2 separate regions of the Homo sapiens genome follow, and region 2 is linked to region 1. Evidence: promoter capture Hi-C in human tissues and cell types (Jung and others, 2019). All regions are on one chromosome and are shown on one strand. Each heading gives the region's core, a stretch centred on a gene start or on the middle of the fragment in contact. The rest is flanking DNA. Distances are from core to core; before and after follow the strand shown.

Region 1 (3,060 bases), core at 517-3,016:
GAATTCATACTTTCCAATTGAGGAGATTAGGTCTGTATTCTTCGAACAGGGAAACTGAGGCGGATGGGAGGCAGGGCAGGAAGAATGATGCCTGGGCATCCATGACTAGGCTGAGACTACAGTTCATCTCTCTAACCTCTGAGTCCACGACCTGACCTATGCCCTGCATGGTGGCACCCACAGCCCAGAGAGGTTTAGGGCCATGTCCTTGGTCCACCAGCATGAAGGACCCATTTTCAACTAACAGCAAATACGAGGGCATCTTTGTTGTTTTAAAGATGGAAATTTTCCTCTCAACCCTTACTGGCCATGTCTGAGCTTGTGGGGCTGTATCAGGAGGGCTACTTCTGGGGCAAGCTGACGTCTTAGGCTCTCTGAGAAGGTCCCAGCACTCTCCATAAACTCCAAGAAGAGCACCTCACTTCCTGGGATGAAAACTCAAAATCCACTCCCGCCCAGACCAACCTCTGCTGCCTCTGGCAGAAGAAAAGACTGTTAGAGGAGGCAAAGAGAAAATGGGAGAGGGCATTTGTGAGGAGGGCGTGAGTCTTCTCTGAATCCTATTCAGAATTCCTGACCAGATGGGCACTGGCGAAGGGAACAGAGAACCGGTTGGCGGCCCACAGCTGTCGCCCATGTTATCCAGGAATCACTGGCAAAGGCACACACAGCTGCACAAACACAGGGACGACGGCCACTCCGGATGCTCTGCCGCCCTCGGGGTTTCAAGAGCTTGACAAGAAACAACAGTCACATTGTTACATTCAGACAGAATCACAAACTGACCGTTAGGGACAAGCTCACACCAACAGATGAGCACCAAATATGACTTGGTAAGGGCCCCACGGCGAGGTGCTGACACCCAGCACCCTCCTGTCCGCCCTGCCTGCACGGTGCCCTCACACCGGTCTCCCCAAAGGCCCGCGGCACCTCAGAGCAGCTCTGCCCACCCCATGGGCATGTTTCCGACGTCCAAACATACAGTTGTACTGTCACAACCATCCACTCACAAACTGTGACAGACACACAAACTGACGCCAAACTGTCCCACAAAGAAGCAAGGGGATGCCAACAGATGATCAAATGTAATTTAGTCAACCGCGGCGCACTCCCCCCCCCGCACCACACACACACATACACACGATGACACACATTCCTGTGTTCCCCTCGATGTAAGTGGCCTCGCCTCTCGCTGGGCCCCAGGTGCCCCTGCAGGAAATGCGGAGGCGCGGGGAGTCCAGGGAACGGGCTTGGGGTCTCAAGTTCGTGATCCCCACCCTCACCCCGGGCTCCAGCCCTGCGGCGCCGGCCCGCAGCGGACTCACCGGACGATGCCGAACATGACAAGCACGTTGCCCAGCAGCCCCACGGCGCACACGGCCGAGTAGAGCGCGGTGATGGCGATTGCCAGGGCGAGGGACGAGGCGCTCCGCGCGCCTGGCGGCCCCGACGCATTGGCGCCAGCGCTGGGGCAGGCGCTAGGGTAGGCGTCCGAGGCGTTGGCGAAGAGCGGGGGCTGCAGCTCGGCGCCGGCGGAGGGGGCCGGTTCCATGGCTGCCGGCCGGCTCCGCCGCGTCCCTCTCCACCGTGCGCCCTGGGCGCGGGGATCCGACGCGAGGGGAGCGGCAAGGCAGAGGCCGCGGCCCCGACGCCGCCGGCTGCCGCGCCCCGGCCGCCCCGCTGTCTCTGCGCCTCGTCCGCCTGCCTCGCCGCCCGCACCGGCCCAGCCCCCGGCGTCCGCCCGCTCTCCTCGCCCGGAGCGCTGTGAGCCAGGAGCAGCCGCAGGCTCCTCGGACGCGCCCGCCGCGCGCACCACGTGGCCCGGAGGCGGCCGCCAGTCTGCGCCCGCGACCGGGGGCGGACGCTGCACCACCGGCTCGGAGCTGGGCAGGGGAGGCCTCCCGCCCCCTCCCTAGGGATGCTCCGCCGGCTCGAGTGCGACCCCGTCCCAACCTGGACTCCCCTCCCACCCCCTTGCCACTTTGGTGTCAGAGGGACCTGGGTGTGGATCCCGCCTCCCGCCCCTGCACTAACAGGCGGAGTGACCTTGTGTAAGTCACTTAACCTCCCTCAGCTTCATTCTCTTTGTCTGTGAGATGAGGAAAATCGTACCACCTCCCTCAGAGGGTGGTTGGGGAGATTGAATAAAATGATTCGAACAAAGAGCTTAGAGCAGTGCCCTGCGGACAGTTACATGCTCCGTAAATAACCTATATTATCCGTGCCTTTCTTGCACCCCATTCATTCGCTCAACAAAAATTCTGAGGGTGCCTAATAGAAGAGCCGGGTATTTGGGGGGACCCTCTAGTACACAAAACCAGATGCAGCCTCTGCTTCCTGGGGCTTACAGCCCAGTGCAGGAGAGAGAGCGAGCAACCCTAAAATGACATTAAGATATAGGTACGAATTGAGAAAGTGGCAGGGTCTACAAAACCCAGGGGTCAGGACAGCTTCCCTGGGGAAACGACACTTGAGGTGAGGTGTGAAGTTTGGGGAAGAACTAACTTAAGGAAGTAACAAGGGAAGAGGATTCCGGATAAAGGAAGCAGAGGGACTGAAAGGAAGCCAGGAAGAGGAGAAGGCAGGAAGTGAGGGGGCGATGAGGTGGTGGGCAGGCTCTTGAAGACCACCTTAAGGAGCACTCTGGCTGCAGTGCGAGCAGATAGAAGGGGGGCACTTGGCTAAGTCATCCTTGCCACACCCCTTCCAAGACCTAACCATTCCAGATTAGAGCCATCCTTCTTCTTGGGGTGCCTAGCCTTTCCAGAACATTCTACCAAGCATTACTTTGCTCCAGGCACTGTGATAAGCACTTTATCCATGCACCAACACTTTGGTGTAGCTTCTATTATTATTGTCCCCATGTTACAGATTTAGTGCTCAGCACTAAATTATCCCATATAGTAATTATTTCTATCCGAACTGGTCTCCCTCCTTAAAGGGACCAGGTCTGATTGACCCCTGCATCCAGGAGAGGGCTGGGGTCACAGCAGGTGCTCAAGAAATACTTTTTGGATAATAAAGATCCCAAAGGGAACTGGAGTGGAACAATATTAGGGG
Region 2 (3,018 bases), core at 136-2,635, 310 kb before region 1:
GAGGATTGATGGGGGCGGGGGTCCCAAGCAAAGATGCTGGAGGGAGGCCTCCGTGGAGCGGACCGAGACCTCAGGAGCCTCCAGTCGGACTGGGGAGGCAAGAAGGAGGCCCTGGCTTCGATCTCGCACACGGCCTCGCAGGGATGAAGCCCGGGAGCCGAGGCTCGGTCTTCCCCACTGTGGTCCCTCTGGTCCGCCCGTTACCTCACCGACCCCCCGAGGGGGCTTTTAAGAGCTGGAAGAGGGGGTCCCGGGGGGCACTGATGCACCCCCACTCTCCTCCGCCGACCCAGAGGGTGGGAGCTCAGGTTCAAGGCCTGGCCTGGCCGTGCGGCTCCGGGACCCGGCTCCGCCCCGCGTCGGGGGGTGGCCCCGGCCCCTGGCCCGCCCCTTCCTCGGGTCCCCTCCCTGTCCGCGGCGCGCAGCCGGGTCTCATTAGCGCCCCTCCCCCCGGCTGCGCGCCGGGGGTCTCCACGGCCGGGGGGAGGGGCGGGCCTTAATCAATCCTAGGCCGGAAATTCCTCCCGGGGGGCCCGGCCTGACCGCTGAGCCTGGAAATCGGTCGCCGCCTCCCCCGAACCCGCCCCCCGCATCATGGAAACTGGGCCGACCGCCGGCCGCCCTGGCTCCCCCGCTCTGCATTCCTGCCTCCAGGGGCGGGAGGGCGCGAAGGCCGGGCCGCCCCCTTCGGGCTCGCCGGCGGGGTCGCAGCTCTCAGCACCCTCCCCGTTATTGGGAACAAGCCCGCTCCCCCACTGGCGAAGGGGCGCCTGTTCTTAGGAGTACCCGGCGGCACATCCGCACCCCGTCCGGTCCTTTCAGCTACAAGGCCCGCCCCTCCCCGGGCGCTGCTTTCGCTGAGGGCTTTGCGGAGTCGCCCCGGGCTGGCCCTTGGCGTCTGGCTCTTGCCTCTCGGCATCTTGCGAGGCTGAAGCCTTGGTGCCCATTGCACAGATGAAGTCCGCGAGGTTCAGCGACAGCAAGGGCTGCGGGACCGGGGCAGAGCAGGGACTCGGGCCGCCTCCTCCTGGAAGCTCCCCGGGCGCCTGGGATGAGGGGCTCTGGGAAGCGGGGAAGGACGTGCGGGTGTCGGGGCTCCTGGGTCCCGGGTCTCAGTTTCCCCATGTAGGAAGGGGTCGCCTTTGTGGGCCTTTGCGACCGATGTAAGCTGGGGGTGGGAGAGTGGGGATGGCAGAACTCGGGCCACGGGTGCCCGGAGTCACCAGGCGCGCACAGGGCGCCTACCTGCGATCCTTTGACCTGAGCTGCCGCCTTTCAGCGGCGGTGGGGCCGGGCCCGGCGCGGGTCGGACGGTCCCGGGGGCTGGAGGCGGGGCCGGGGCGGGGCTGGGGCCGGGCCGTGGAGACCCGGGCGGCTCTGGAGCCTCCGCGCGCGGACTGGGACCCGGACCCGCGCGGCGCTGCGGCGCCAGGTGAGCCGAGCTGGGGTCCAGGGGTCCGCACTCCACTTTTCCCAACTTTTCGTTTGGTCCCTCCCTCCCTCCCTCCCTCCCTCGGTCAGGGCCCCTGGGGGCGGGAGCGCGGCCCTCCCGTTCCCCCAGGCGGGAGTGTGGACGCGGGCGGTGGCGGGACCCTGGAGTCCTGGGGACTCGGCCCCAGCATCTTCTGTCGGGCTGTGCGCTGTGTCCCCAAGTTTCCGCCTCCCTGGTGTCCCCAGCGTCGGCCCACTACCTCCACGGCTCGGGGTCTCTGAGCGTGTCCCCATGTCCCCACTCTGCTTGTTTTCGCTTCCCTCGCGGCAGCGACGCGCGGGGCTCCGGGTGACCTTGCTGGAGCCGGGGCTGAGAGCGCCAGTTCTGGCTTGAAGCGATGATCGCTCCTCCGGTTGCGGGCTGGGGAAAGGGCTGCAAACTCAGGGACAAGGAGGGGATGGGCCTCGCTTCCTCCTGGATACTCCCGTGGCTGTCCTGAGAGGGGTCTAGGGCTGGGGCCCCGGAGCCCGGCGTCGGACCTGGCAGAGCCCCCGCCTAGTGCGGGGTCGGGCAGTCTCCCCGGCCTCCCTGGGCCGTAGTTGCAATCTGTGAAACCAGGCTTTGGACGCGGGAGAGTGGCGGCTCCCTGCTAGGCCCGGGCCTTGAGCGCTCCAGTCGGAGGCAGGGATGGGTGTCCTGCTTTGAGGTTTGGGGTGCAGATGGGGCGTGGGTCGGGGAGCAAGGCCGCCTCCCCGAGGTTTCGGCTGCGGGCTCCAGCGCGGTGGTTCTTTAGGAAGCGGACGCGAGCAGTGAGGACGACCCTGGACAGCTAGGCCCTGAGCCTCCTCTCCTGCGGCCTGGGGCGCCTGGGCGGGGGCCGCGTCTTCTCCCTCGCCCTCCCTTTCGTGGGGGCCACACCGCACGCAGCTCGGCTACTCCTGCTGGGCCCGGGATCCAGGCCACAGGCCGCAGGCAGGGCGCGGCCAGCAATCGGGAGGGCTTAAGCTGTGCGGCCCGGATCCCGAGGCGCAGGGGCGGTGCTGCTCTGACCGGGCCACGGGCCACGGAGGCCTCGGGCGGAGGAGGCGGGAAAGGAGGCCAGGCGGCGGGAAAGGGGGATGATTCATCCGGAGGAGCCCGAATTGGAAACGTCGCAACCTGGGAACAGCCTTGCCCGGGCCGACGGGGGAGCCGGGAGGGCATCCGTCCGGCGGGGCCCAGCGCCCGGCACCGGCACCCCCGCCTGCTGCCGTGGCCCCAGCACGACCGCTGGGGGAGGGAGAGGCCTCTCATGCGTGGACTTGATGGAAATCTTGGGCGAAGTCGGCGCCGCCTCTCCTCCTCTGCCTGGCTGGTCTTGATCCGAGCGGTCTTCCCGGTGTCTAGCTCAAGTCGCTCCTGCTGCAGCTTCGCTGCGGGCGGAGGAGGTCTGGAAGGAGGGGGCGGGCAGGGAGAGGCTGGAGCCGGTGACGCCCCCTCCTCCCGCGCTGCGGTATGTAAAGCACAGTAGGGGGGAGGTGGGGCCCGGCGAGCGACCCCTGCGGACCTGGGAGGCCCGAGCGCCCCCGCCCCATTTGCTACGGTGC

Evidence for each region. The method cuts DNA at HindIII sites, captures the fragments that hold promoters and counts their contacts. A contact is called where the count stands out against the background at its distance.
Region 2: a contact is called between the fragment with the promoter of TMEM200B here and the fragment with the promoter of OPRD1 in region 1, in 1 of the 25 tissues and cell types used here (adrenal gland).

The regions. Positions count from the first base shown.
Region 1 is chr1:28,810,876-28,813,935 of GRCh38, reverse strand. OPRD1 (opioid receptor delta 1) reads right to left here and starts at 1,766. Exons shown (of 3, transcript NM_000911.4): 1 at 1,326-1,766. The coding sequence starts at 1,552. The HindIII fragment of the contact is 21,122 bases long and covers 1-3,060 here.
Region 2 is chr1:29,122,270-29,125,287 of GRCh38, reverse strand. It overlaps TMEM200B (transmembrane protein 200B), which reads left to right and starts at 1,385. Exons shown (of 2, transcript NM_001003682.4): 1 at 1,385-1,432. RefSeq lists enhancers at 1-251, 252-1,111, 1,112-1,971. The HindIII fragment of the contact is 25,455 bases long and covers 1-3,018 here.